2 separate regions of the Homo sapiens genome follow, and region 2 is linked to region 1. Evidence: promoter capture Hi-C in 16 types of primary human blood cells and fetal thymus (Javierre and others, 2016). All regions are on one chromosome and are shown on one strand. Each heading gives the region's core, a stretch centred on a gene start or on the middle of the fragment in contact. The rest is flanking DNA. Distances are from core to core; before and after follow the strand shown.

What was found. The method cuts DNA at HindIII sites, captures the fragments that hold promoters and counts their contacts. A CHiCAGO score of 5 or more calls a contact.
Region 2: a contact is called between a fragment that was not itself captured here and the fragment with the promoter of LMAN2L in region 1, in 17 of 17 cell types (M0 macrophages, M1 macrophages, monocytes and 14 more). The highest score is 15.7, in M0 macrophages.

The regions. Positions count from the first base shown.
Region 1 is chr2:96,738,649-96,744,105 of GRCh38, forward strand. It overlaps LMAN2L (lectin, mannose binding 2 like), which reads right to left and starts at 1,416. Exons shown (of 8, transcript NM_030805.4): 1 at 1,206-1,416. The coding sequence starts at 1,392. RefSeq lists enhancers at 1-731, 732-1,669. The HindIII fragment of the contact is 9,784 bases long and covers 1-5,457 here.
Region 2 is chr2:96,627,003-96,632,327 of GRCh38, forward strand. It overlaps KANSL3 (KAT8 regulatory NSL complex subunit 3), which reads right to left. Exons shown (of 21, transcript NM_001115016.3): 3 at 4,310-4,480. Among named protein-coding and RNA genes, the nearest start is that of KANSL3, 8.6 kb to the right of the region's middle. The HindIII fragment of the contact is 1,114 bases long and covers 2,666-3,779 here.

The DNA.
Region 1 (5,457 bases), core at 166-2,665:
TAGGCAACGGAACAAGACCTTGTCTCTAAAAATATATAAATATAAATAAAAAGAGTTTGACCCTCAGGCCTCCGGGGCTTAGTCACATTCTTCCTTTTTTTTTTTTCTTTGAGATGGAGTCTCGCTCTGTTGCCCAGGCTGAAGTGCAGTGGCATGACCTCGGCTCACTGTAAGCTCTGCCTCCCGGGTTCACGCCATTCTCCTGCCTCAGCCTCCTGAGTAGCTGGGACTACAGGCGCCCGCCACCACACCTGGCTAATTTTTTTGTATTTTCAGCAGAGATGGGGTTTCACCGTGTTAGCTAGGATGGTCTCAATCTCCTGACCTCGTGATCCGCCCACCTCGGCCTCCCAAAGTGCGGAGATTACAGGCGTGAGCCACCGCCCCAGCCGTCACATTCTTTCTTTAAACAATCCTTAAAGTGTGAAGCTACTCCCTGTACCCTCACCTATAAACTTCTTTAAGAATGAAAACTTTGTGTCTGCAAACCCATAAGCATTAGCAAAGAGACAGCACAGAGGCACTCCAGGCATGTAAGTGAATAAATGATTACCCTTAGTAGTAGAGTATACTCTTGCACTTTGAATTGTTTTCTGTCCCACTACCTACGCCTTAGTGGGGAAAGACTTGTGTTAGTTAAGCCATCTGCACTGGTTTGTCATCGTTTTGTGGCTAACTGCATTAATTTTCTGGCTGATAAGCTGTGCTTAGAGTTCTGTGAACCCTAACCTCTTTCACCAACAGGGCCCCTAGGCTGGAGAAGAGAAGGTGGTTCTACCCAGCAACATAAATTTATCATCTTCTCATTTCGTTCAAGTTCTACCCCAGTTCTTCCTCCTGCTTTATTTCTAGCACATCCACAGGTCCATCTGGAGACTGGCTCATTGCTAGTAGCCCTCAATCACTCCTCACCATTCTCAATTCTCTCCCCTTCCCAAACTCCTCCTGTCTAACTCCAGGCCTAGTACTAGTGGCACCCGACAGCCCTGCCTTTACCTACTGGAAACTTCCAGAGCTTGGCAGGCACACCTAACTCCTGCCTTTCAGACCTGTGGCTCCCAAACGCGGAGGGAGTCTCCGTGGGCCCCACCACCGCCAGCAGTTTCCTCCGGGCCACGAAGCCCTTCGCCGCCCCCGCCTCTACCCCTGAAATCAAGTCCCGAAGCCCGCCCCACTGCACGACCACCTCACCCTGGGCGCCTCACCCTGGTAGGGCTTCGACAGCGAGTGCTCCCGTTTCAAGTACTCGAACGTTTGACCCGCCCCGACTTGCTGTGGCCCCTGCCCAGACCCCAACAAAAGAAGAAGGAGTAACATCCTGGACCCATCCCGAGCCGACAAACATCGCCGCCACTGCTGCCACGACCCAAGGGGTCCCAGAGTCGCCGCCATCTTTCCCACCAACGACCCTTCATCAAAAGCCCGCCCCGTCGCCCAACCCATTGGCCCGAAGAGCCATCTGCCCTGCGTCCTATTGGCTTTCGTCAAGCCCCCGCCCCTGCAGGTGACTATATCACCGATTGGCTGGCTTCTGTATCAGTTGCCTTGCCAACCCAGAAAAGGGGCGTAGCCGAATGCCCAGCCCCCCCCCTTATTTGCATTTGCCCTGAGTTCCACTAGGCTTGCTGGGATACGTAGTTTATTTGTATTTTGTTTTCTGCGTACGAGAGTAAATTTAAAGAGATAAAACGTTTCTTCTGGTCCCAAACATTCTATCCTCTCTGCAATAGTACGCTCCTGACTGCAGCTCTCTGAATCAATTTGGAAGATATAGCAGTGAAAGGAGAAATAGACAAATCCGTAAAATAGCTGGAAAACTATCAATTTATAAAAGACTTGAACAGCACTACCAACTAACTTGACCTGATGATATTTATAGAAACTCCACCTAACAACTGCGGAAGACACATTCTCTTCAAATGCAAATGACTCCTTTGCCGTGATAGTCTGGGCCATCAAGCAACCTACAGATATAAAAGAACTGAAAGCACACAAATTAATTAATTCTAAAAGCCATCACCTCCTTTCCTCCCTTCCTCTTTTTTTTCTTTTTGGTTTGAGACGAGGTCTTGGCCAGGCGCGGTGGCTCACGCCTGTAATCCCAGCACTTTGGGAGGCCGAGGCAGGCGGATCACCTGAGGTTGGGAGTTCGAGACCAGCCTGACCAAGGTGGAGAAACCCCGTCTCTATTAAAAATAAAAAAAAAAATTAGCCAGGCGTGGTGGCACGTGCCTGTAATCCCAGCTACTGGGAGGCTGAGGCAGGAGAATCGCTTGAACCTGGGAGGCAGAGGTTGCAGTGAGCCGAGACCAAGCCATTGCACTCCAGCCTGGGCCACATAGAGCAAAACTCCATCTCAAAAAAAAAAAAAAAAAGAGAGACAAGGTCTTGCTCTGTTGCCCAGGCTGGAGTGCAGTGGCACAATCTCAGCTCCAGCCTCTCCCTCCCTGGCTGAAGTGATCCTGCCACCTTAGCCTCCTGAGTTACTGGGACTACAGGCACATCCCTTCGTCTTTATCCGGCACCACAACATGTGTCCAGACTGGTCTCCACGTAGCCACTAAAGTGATCCAAACTATCTAACCATGGTAAGTGTCAGGGTTAAATGAGTCAATATTGGTAAACCTCTTAGAACAGTGCCTTGCGTGTAGTAAGCACTATTTCTTTCTTTTTTCTTTTCTTTTTTTTTTTGTTTTTGTTTTTGTTTTTGTTTTTGAGACAGGGTCTCTCTCTGTCACCCAGGCTGGAGTGCAGTGGCATGACCACAGCCTCAACCTCCTGGACTCAAGGGATCTTCCCACTTCAGCCTCTCAAGTAGCTGGGACTACAGGTGTGTGCCACCTCACCTTGCTAATTTTTATTTTTTGTAGCTATGGGGTTGTGGGGGAGGTCTCACTAAGTTGCCCAGATTTGTCTCATACTTCTAGACTTCAGTGATCCTCTCTCCTCAGCCTCCCAAAGTGCTGGGATTAGAGGTGTAAGCCACCGCACCAAGCCATAAGCGCTATTTCATCATCATCATTCTTATTAACCGGGCCTTTGATGGCTCACCATCACCTGTGGGGAGGAGATTCAAGCCCCTCAATTTGGCACACAAAGCCCCCTGCCATCTGGCCCTGGCCTTATTGCCCATGACTCTTTTCCTCCATCTTTATGCTCCAGCTTCCCTTCCCTCTTTTTTTTTTCTGCAGTCCACTTCCTTCTGGAGGTCCTTCTCAAACCTCTCAGGCAGGGTAGATTCTCCTGTCTGAGCTCTCAAAGTGTTCCATGCACATCTCATATAGAGCAATTGACAGATCTGTGTTTATGTCTTCCCAATAGACTTAACCAAAGTTAACACTCTCTTGCTTTCCTGAGCATGAATATATTTAATAAGATAAACATAATTATGAGCCTACTTTACAGGGGATCAACTTTTTAAAATTAAAGCTGTCACAGCTATTTTTTTTAAAGAGATGGGGTCTTGGCTGGGCACGGTGGCTCAGGCCTGTAATCCCAGCACTTTGGGAGGCAGGCGGATCACCTGAGGTCAGGAGTTCAAGACCATCCTGGCCAACATGGTGAAACCCCATCTCTACTAAAAATACAAAAAATTAGCCAGCCGTGGTGGCACACGCCTGTAGTCCCAGCTACTCAGGAGGCTGAGGCAGGAGAATCACTTGAACCCAGAAGGCGGAGGTTGCAGTGAGCCGAGACCGCACCACAGCACTCCAGCCTGGGCAACACAGTGAGACTTCGTCTCGAAAAATATATATATACATATATATACAAAAATTAAATGGGCGTGGTGGCAGGTGCCTGTAATCCCAGATACTTGGAAGGCTGAGGCAGGAGAATCACTTGAACCCAGGAGGTAGAGGTTGCAGTGAGTCAAGAAGATCCCACCACCATACTCCAGCCTGAGCAGCAGATCCGTCTCAAAAAAACAAAAAAAAGAAGAAATGGGGTCTCAATCCATCAGGCTGGGGTGCAGTACTGTGATCATAGCTCACTACAGTCTCAAACTGCTGGGTGAGCCTCAGCTAATTTTTAAAATTTTTTCTAAAGATGGGGGTCTCTATGTTGCCCAGGCTGGTTTTGAACTTCTGGCCTTAAGCGATCCTCCCACCTCATCTCTCAAAGTGCTGAGATTACAGGTGTGAGCCATGGTGCCCAGCCTGTCACTGCCATCAGTCTTTGACACCCTACAATGTCAAATGTCTGGTGCTAAGACTTTAGGAATTGCAATGAATCTGTTCGTGTCATACACTGGCTTTAAAACCATTCATAACTCCCAATTACCAAAATCCAAAGTCCTTAGTGTAGCATTCAAAGCCCTTTGCATCCTGACTGAAATCAGGCGCTACGCATGTGTACTGTAATGTGTGTCACCTGGAATTATGGAGCTCAATTAACAGATTATGGGTTTGTCTCCGCAGCAAGGCTGGGAGCTCCAGGACCACAGGAAGCAGGTCTTACTCATTTCCTAACTCAGGCCCCACCCATTTCCCCAACCCCAACCTATCACCCAGCACATAGTAGGGGTTCTAATTGTTTTGAATAAATTATTTCCATTGCATTTCTCTGCAAGATGAATTTTTAATTGTAGTAAAATGCACATAAAGGCCGGGCGCGGTGGCTCACACCTGTAATCCCAGCACTTTGGGAGGCCGAGGTGGGTGGCTCATCTGAGGTCGGGAGTTCGAGACCAGCCTGACCAACATGAAGAAACCCCGTCTCTACTAAAAATACAAAATTAGCCGGGTGTGGTGGCGCATGCCTGTAATCCCAGCTAGTTGGGAGGCTGAGGCAGGAGAATCGCTTGAACCTGGGAAGTGGAGGTTGCGGTGAGCCAAGATCGCGCCACTGCACTCCAGCCTAGGCAACAAGAGTGAAACTCTGTCTCAAAAAAAAAAAAGAAAAAAAATACATAAAATACAGCGTATAATTTTTAAGTACAGATGGTCCTCAACTTACAATGGGGTTACCTACAGAAAAACTAAACCCATCCTAAAGTCTAAAAATCCTAAGTCAAACCATCATTAAGTCAGGACCATGTGTGTTCAGTTCAAAGGCATTAAATTCATTCGCAGTGTCATGCACCCTGTCAGCTGAATTTCTGATAGATTGACACAAGCAGAAATCTCATTGTAAAATTCTGTGTGATGAGGAAAAGGGGAATAAAGGAGAAGGGTGTGAAAGGTGAGATGCACTGGACTATAAATCAAATCATTTTGTTCAGACTGTTGCAATAGGAAGAATGCTTATTAATGAGGAATGTATCAAAGAAAAGGAAGAGCCAGGCCCGGTGGCTCATACCTGTAATCCCAGTACTTTGGGAGGCTGAGGCGGGTGGATCATGAGGTCAGGAGTTCGAGACCAGCCTGGCCAATATAGTGAAACCCCATCTCAACTAGAAATACAAAAATTAGCCAAGCGTGGTAGTGCACACCTGTAGTCCCAGCCACTCGGGAGGTT
Region 2 (5,325 bases), core at 1,973-4,472, 110 kb before region 1:
TGAAACAGTATTAATTTTTTTGCAACTATTTAAAAATGTAAAAATCATTCCACACAAAAACAAGCAATGGGCCAAATTTAAATCAGCCCACTGTCATAGTTAGACAACCACTAATGCAGACAATTAAATAAGGTAGTAATATTTAAACCATTTCACAAAATATCAGCCATTAATAAAGAAAGCCAGAGTCAGGGGCAGGGAAGGGAGGAACATGCTTCTTTTTTTTTTTTGAGACGGAGTCTTGCTCTGTTGCCCGGGCTGGAGTGCAGTGGCACGATCTCGGCTCACTGCAACCTCTGCCTTCCAGGTTCAAGAGATTCTCCTGCCTCAGCCTCCCGAGTAGCTGAGATTACAGGCGTTTGCCACCACACCAGCTAATTTTTACTATTTTTAGTAGAGACGGGGTTTCACTATGTTGGTCAGGCTGGTCTCAAACTCCTCACCTCAAATTATCTTCCCGCCTCAGCCTCCCAAAGTGCTGGGATTACAGGCGAGAGCTACTGCGCCTAGCCTATATACACAAAGCTATCTGAAGACAGTTTCTACTGAAATCATTCAAGAGAGAGGAAAAAAGCTCTTAACAAGGAAATTAAGTTTCTGCCTCCACAGACAAAGAGCAATCAGTAAACTCTCCGGGAAAGAACTCCAGAGTTCTAGGGAGCCGACCTACACCGTTCATGGAGCTCTTGATGTGGCAAACTAATTTTACATGACTTTATATAAGAAGAAAGGAAGCAGCAATTTAACAATCAAGTCAGGGAAAGAATGGCAACACGATGATTATAATCAGAGCAGAAGGAACTGCAAGCTCCAAACAGGCTACAGATTCAGGGACAGGGTCATAAAATGGTGGTATCTGAAACTGAAACTAATAAGTTATCATAAATAATAAAATCGGCTATGTACAAAAGTTACCTACCAAAAGAGATGGTGTGTAAGCCTGCTGCCAATGAGAGAAGGCCTCCAAAATCTCATCAGACACTAAGAAAACAAATAATCTGATAAATTGAGCTTTAATGGATTACATCAATCTGTGGCAATGTGGCAATGTCATAACAGAAGGGTGGTGGTCCACAAGGAGACTGGAGAAAGATAAGCCAAAGACAAGAATCTGTCAGTGTTTCTCTAAAGGACAGGCAGGAGAAGGTGCACACTGGCCTATTCCGTGGACTCATCTTGCCTAGAGGAAAGATGTGTACATCCAGCTATTCTGCTGTGCCTCCTGTGTAGACTCTCCACTCATCTATTCACTTCTGAAATAAAATGGTTTTCCAGACTTTCCTGCTGAGAACAGACACTCTGGCCAGGCCACCCCAGTGTCTCTTATGCTTTGCAGTTATATCTCTCCTTATAAATTAAGAAACTCAGCCAAGTGCAGTGGCTCACACCTATAATCCTAGCACTTTGGGAGGCAAAGGTGGGCAGACCACTTGAGCCAGGAGTTTGAGACCAGCCTAGGCAACATGGTGAAACCCAATCTCTACAAAAACTACAAAAATTAAGAAATGGTGACGTACTCCTGTAGTCCCAGCTACTTGGGAGGTTAAGGTTCCCACCCGGGAGAATCACCTGAGTCCTGGAGGTCAAGGCTTGTAGTGAGCTGAGATCGTGCCACTGCACTGCAGTCTGGGTGACAGAGTGAGACCCTGTCTCAAAAAAAAGAAAAAAGAAACAAACTGGTATTTATAGTATTATTAAGTCTCTAATGACTTTGATAAGTATGAATTGTCCACAAAAACCTCTTAATCATAACCATGGATAAACTGACAAAAAAAAAAAAAATCACACAGTTCTCCTATGTACTTTCTGAAATTGCAAAGGACAAGGTAGTAGAAAATACCACAAAGGGATACATAACCATACCAGGCCACCTTGTTCAGCCACCACTAACTGGTCTTAATCTCTTCTTACTGCCCTTAATTAAGGCAGAGGGTATGGTAGTTGAGAACACTGGGTTCTGGAGTCAGGCTGCTTGGTTTGAACAAAATCCTTCTCCATCACTTCCTAATTAAGGTTTCTTAAACACCCTGAGCTCAGTTTCTTCATCCTGTTGAGCAGAGATGAAGGGGGGATATACCTCCAAGAGTCATTGGGAGGATTAAGAGACAATGCATTTGAAGAGACATTGATACAATGTCTGGCACCTAGAAAGCACTCAACAAACGGTAGCTCCTTTTTGTTATTACCATCGTCGTTATTTTTTATTATTAACTGTAAAAATAGTGATAAATCCTTTTGCTGAATATACTGACTCTAGCAATATTCCAGTAGTTGATCTTCATTCGTAGCAGTTTTCTTCTTTATCTGAAGCTCAAAAGAGCTTTTTTTTCTTTTTTTGAGATGGTGTTTCACTCTTGGTGCCCAGACTGGAGTGCAATGGCACGATCTCGGCTCACCACAACCTCCGCCTCCCAGGTTCAAGTGATTCTCCTGCCTCAGCCTCCCGAGTAGCTGGGATTACAGGCATGCGCCACCACACCCAGCTAATTTTGTATTTTTAGCAGAGACAGAGTTTCTCCATGTTGGTCAGGCTGGTCTTGAACTCCCGACCTCAGGTGATCCACCCGCCTCAACCTCCCAAAGTACTGGGATTACAGGCGTGAGAAAAGAGCTTCTTAAGGCACTAAATTAATTCCAATGCAAGACCCCAACCAACTTCTTCACAAGCTTTTTCAACCAAGGTGCAGAACTGCTCCTCCCTCAACAGCTGCTGTTTTGATCACACAAGCACACCTGTTCAATCTCATTCCCAACTTCCAACCAGCTTCAGAAGTCATGTCAATCACCTCAAACTTTCTACCCCTCTTTCTCTCTATTATAAAATAAGGGTTCTCCAAAATTATGGAAAGTTACCACCTACCAACTCCTGATATAAGAAGTAACATTTCCTTATATATATAGTAGATATATGGATACACAGACAAAAAGCCATCAACAAAATATAAGTTGAAACCACAATGAGATGCCACTTTACACGCAGTAGAATGGTTATAATTTTTTTAAAAAAGAAGAAAATCAGTAAGTGTTGGCAAGGATATGGAGAAACTAGAACTCTCATACACTGCTGGTAGGAATGTAAAATGGTACAGCCACTTTGGAAAACAGTCTGGCAATTCCTCAAAGGTTAAATACAGAGTTATCATATGACCCAACAAGTCCACTCCCAGGTATATAACTAAGAGAATTAAAAACTTAGATCCACACAAAAACTTGTATGCAAATGTTCATAATAGCATTATTCACAATTGCCAAAAAATGAAAACAATCTAAATATCTATCAACTGATTAATGAATAAATAAAATGTGGGCTATCCATACAATGTAATGTCATTTGGCAATAAAAAGCATGAAGTGCTGATACACGCAACCACATGGATAAACCTTGAAAACATCATGCTGGGTGAAAGAAGCCAGTAGGAAAAGACCACATATTGCATGATTCCATTTATATGAAATGTCCAGAATAGGCAAATCTATAAAGACAAAAGTCAATTAGTGCTTCCTAGGGACCAGAGAAGCTGGGAGGAAACGGGAAGTAACTGTTTATGGGTAAGAGGTTTCTTTTTAGGATGATGAAAATGTTTATCAAATTGATAGTGGTGATGAATATACAACTCTGACTATACTAAAAACCAATGACTGTACATATTAAATAGCTGAATTGTATGGTATGTAAATAATATCCCCAAAAAGCTGTTATGTAATTAGGTAAATGTTTACCAAATGAACAGGGACAAATAACCAGGAGAGGAGTGCTGAGTCCCCTGGGGGCAGTAGAAAGCTTGGGAACAAAACTAGCCAGTATACTCGTGAAAATAGGCTTCAGTGTGCCCTCCATAGCCTGCAAATCTATTTTTAAAAGCCACTCAAACATCTGTTAGCTTTTCATGTGACTTCACAACTTCCATCATCCTAGTTATAAACCATTTAAACACAATATCTTACAAATGTACATTTCATTTTTTTGCAGTTTGGGTAACCCCTATATCATAACTTATACAACAGAAGCTACTACAGAGCTAGTCATATGTATCAAATTTAATTCACTTATTTATTCAACAAACATTATATGCCTACTGTGTGCCAGACAACGTCCTAGTGTGAAGTATGCAAAGATGGCTGAGATGTAAGCCCTACTCTCAAGGAGCTCACACACAGCATGGTGAACTGAGAGTTATAATGTGAGACTTTGGAGAACACTCTGACTTGTGTTGCTGCAAATGAAATAAGGTCCTAATAAGTGTTATTTCAATGAAGATGATACAAAATAATTACAGGGCAGTGATCATCCTCCTGATGAGCAGCCTACCTGTTGACATGCTCCTCCCAGTCCTCTGGTGGAGGAGGGGCATCTGCATCAGTCCTGGCAAAGATGACATGCCGTTCACACTCATTCATCACGCTGCGTGCCTTCTGATTGTCATAGAGTGGCATAGGCGTTGATGTGACCGTCTCCACATCTATTGGGACGTCTGATTCACTGTAAACAGGTGAGGAAATAGGACCGGGCCACACATACTTCACAGGTATTTAACAATCATCTGGTTGACAAAAAATGTATCTTTAATACAGTCAGCTTTAAATTACGCATAAGCACATTATATTCACAAGAAAATTTTGATCCAAAGTCATCTTTCCCACACTTGTCTAGATCTCTGCCCTCTCAGACATGATGGTATGTACTGGAAGAACACAAAGTCATTTTTTCAATGAGTCTATATAAAAAATGATAAACATCTATTTTTTTTTTAAGATAAATATGGGCCAGGTGCACTGGCTCACACCTGTAATACCACCACTTTGGGAAGCCGAGGCAGGTGGATTGCTTGAACTCAGGAGTTCAAGACCAGCCTGGGCAACATGAGGAAACCCTGTCTCTACCAAAAATACAAAAATTAGCTGGGCATGTGGCACACACCTGTGATCCCAGCTACTAAGGAGGCTAAGGTGGGAGGACTGCTGGAACCCGGGAAGTCAAGGCTGCAGTGAGCCATGATTGCATCACTGCACTCCAGCCTGGGTGACAGAGCAAGACCTGGTCTCAAAAATAAATAAATAAATGACAAATACAGCCAGACACAGTGATTCACACCTGTAATCCCAGCACTTGGGAGGCTGAAGCAGGAGGATCACTTAAGCCCAGGAGTGAGCTGGTCTCAAAAAATAAATAAATAAATGACAAATATAGCCAGGCACAGTGATTCATACTTGTAATCCCAGTACTTTGGAAGGCTGAAGGAGGATTGTTTAAGCCCAGAAGTTCAAGACCAGTTTGGCAATATGGCAAAACCCCGTCTCTAAAACAAACACAAAAATTAGCCAGGC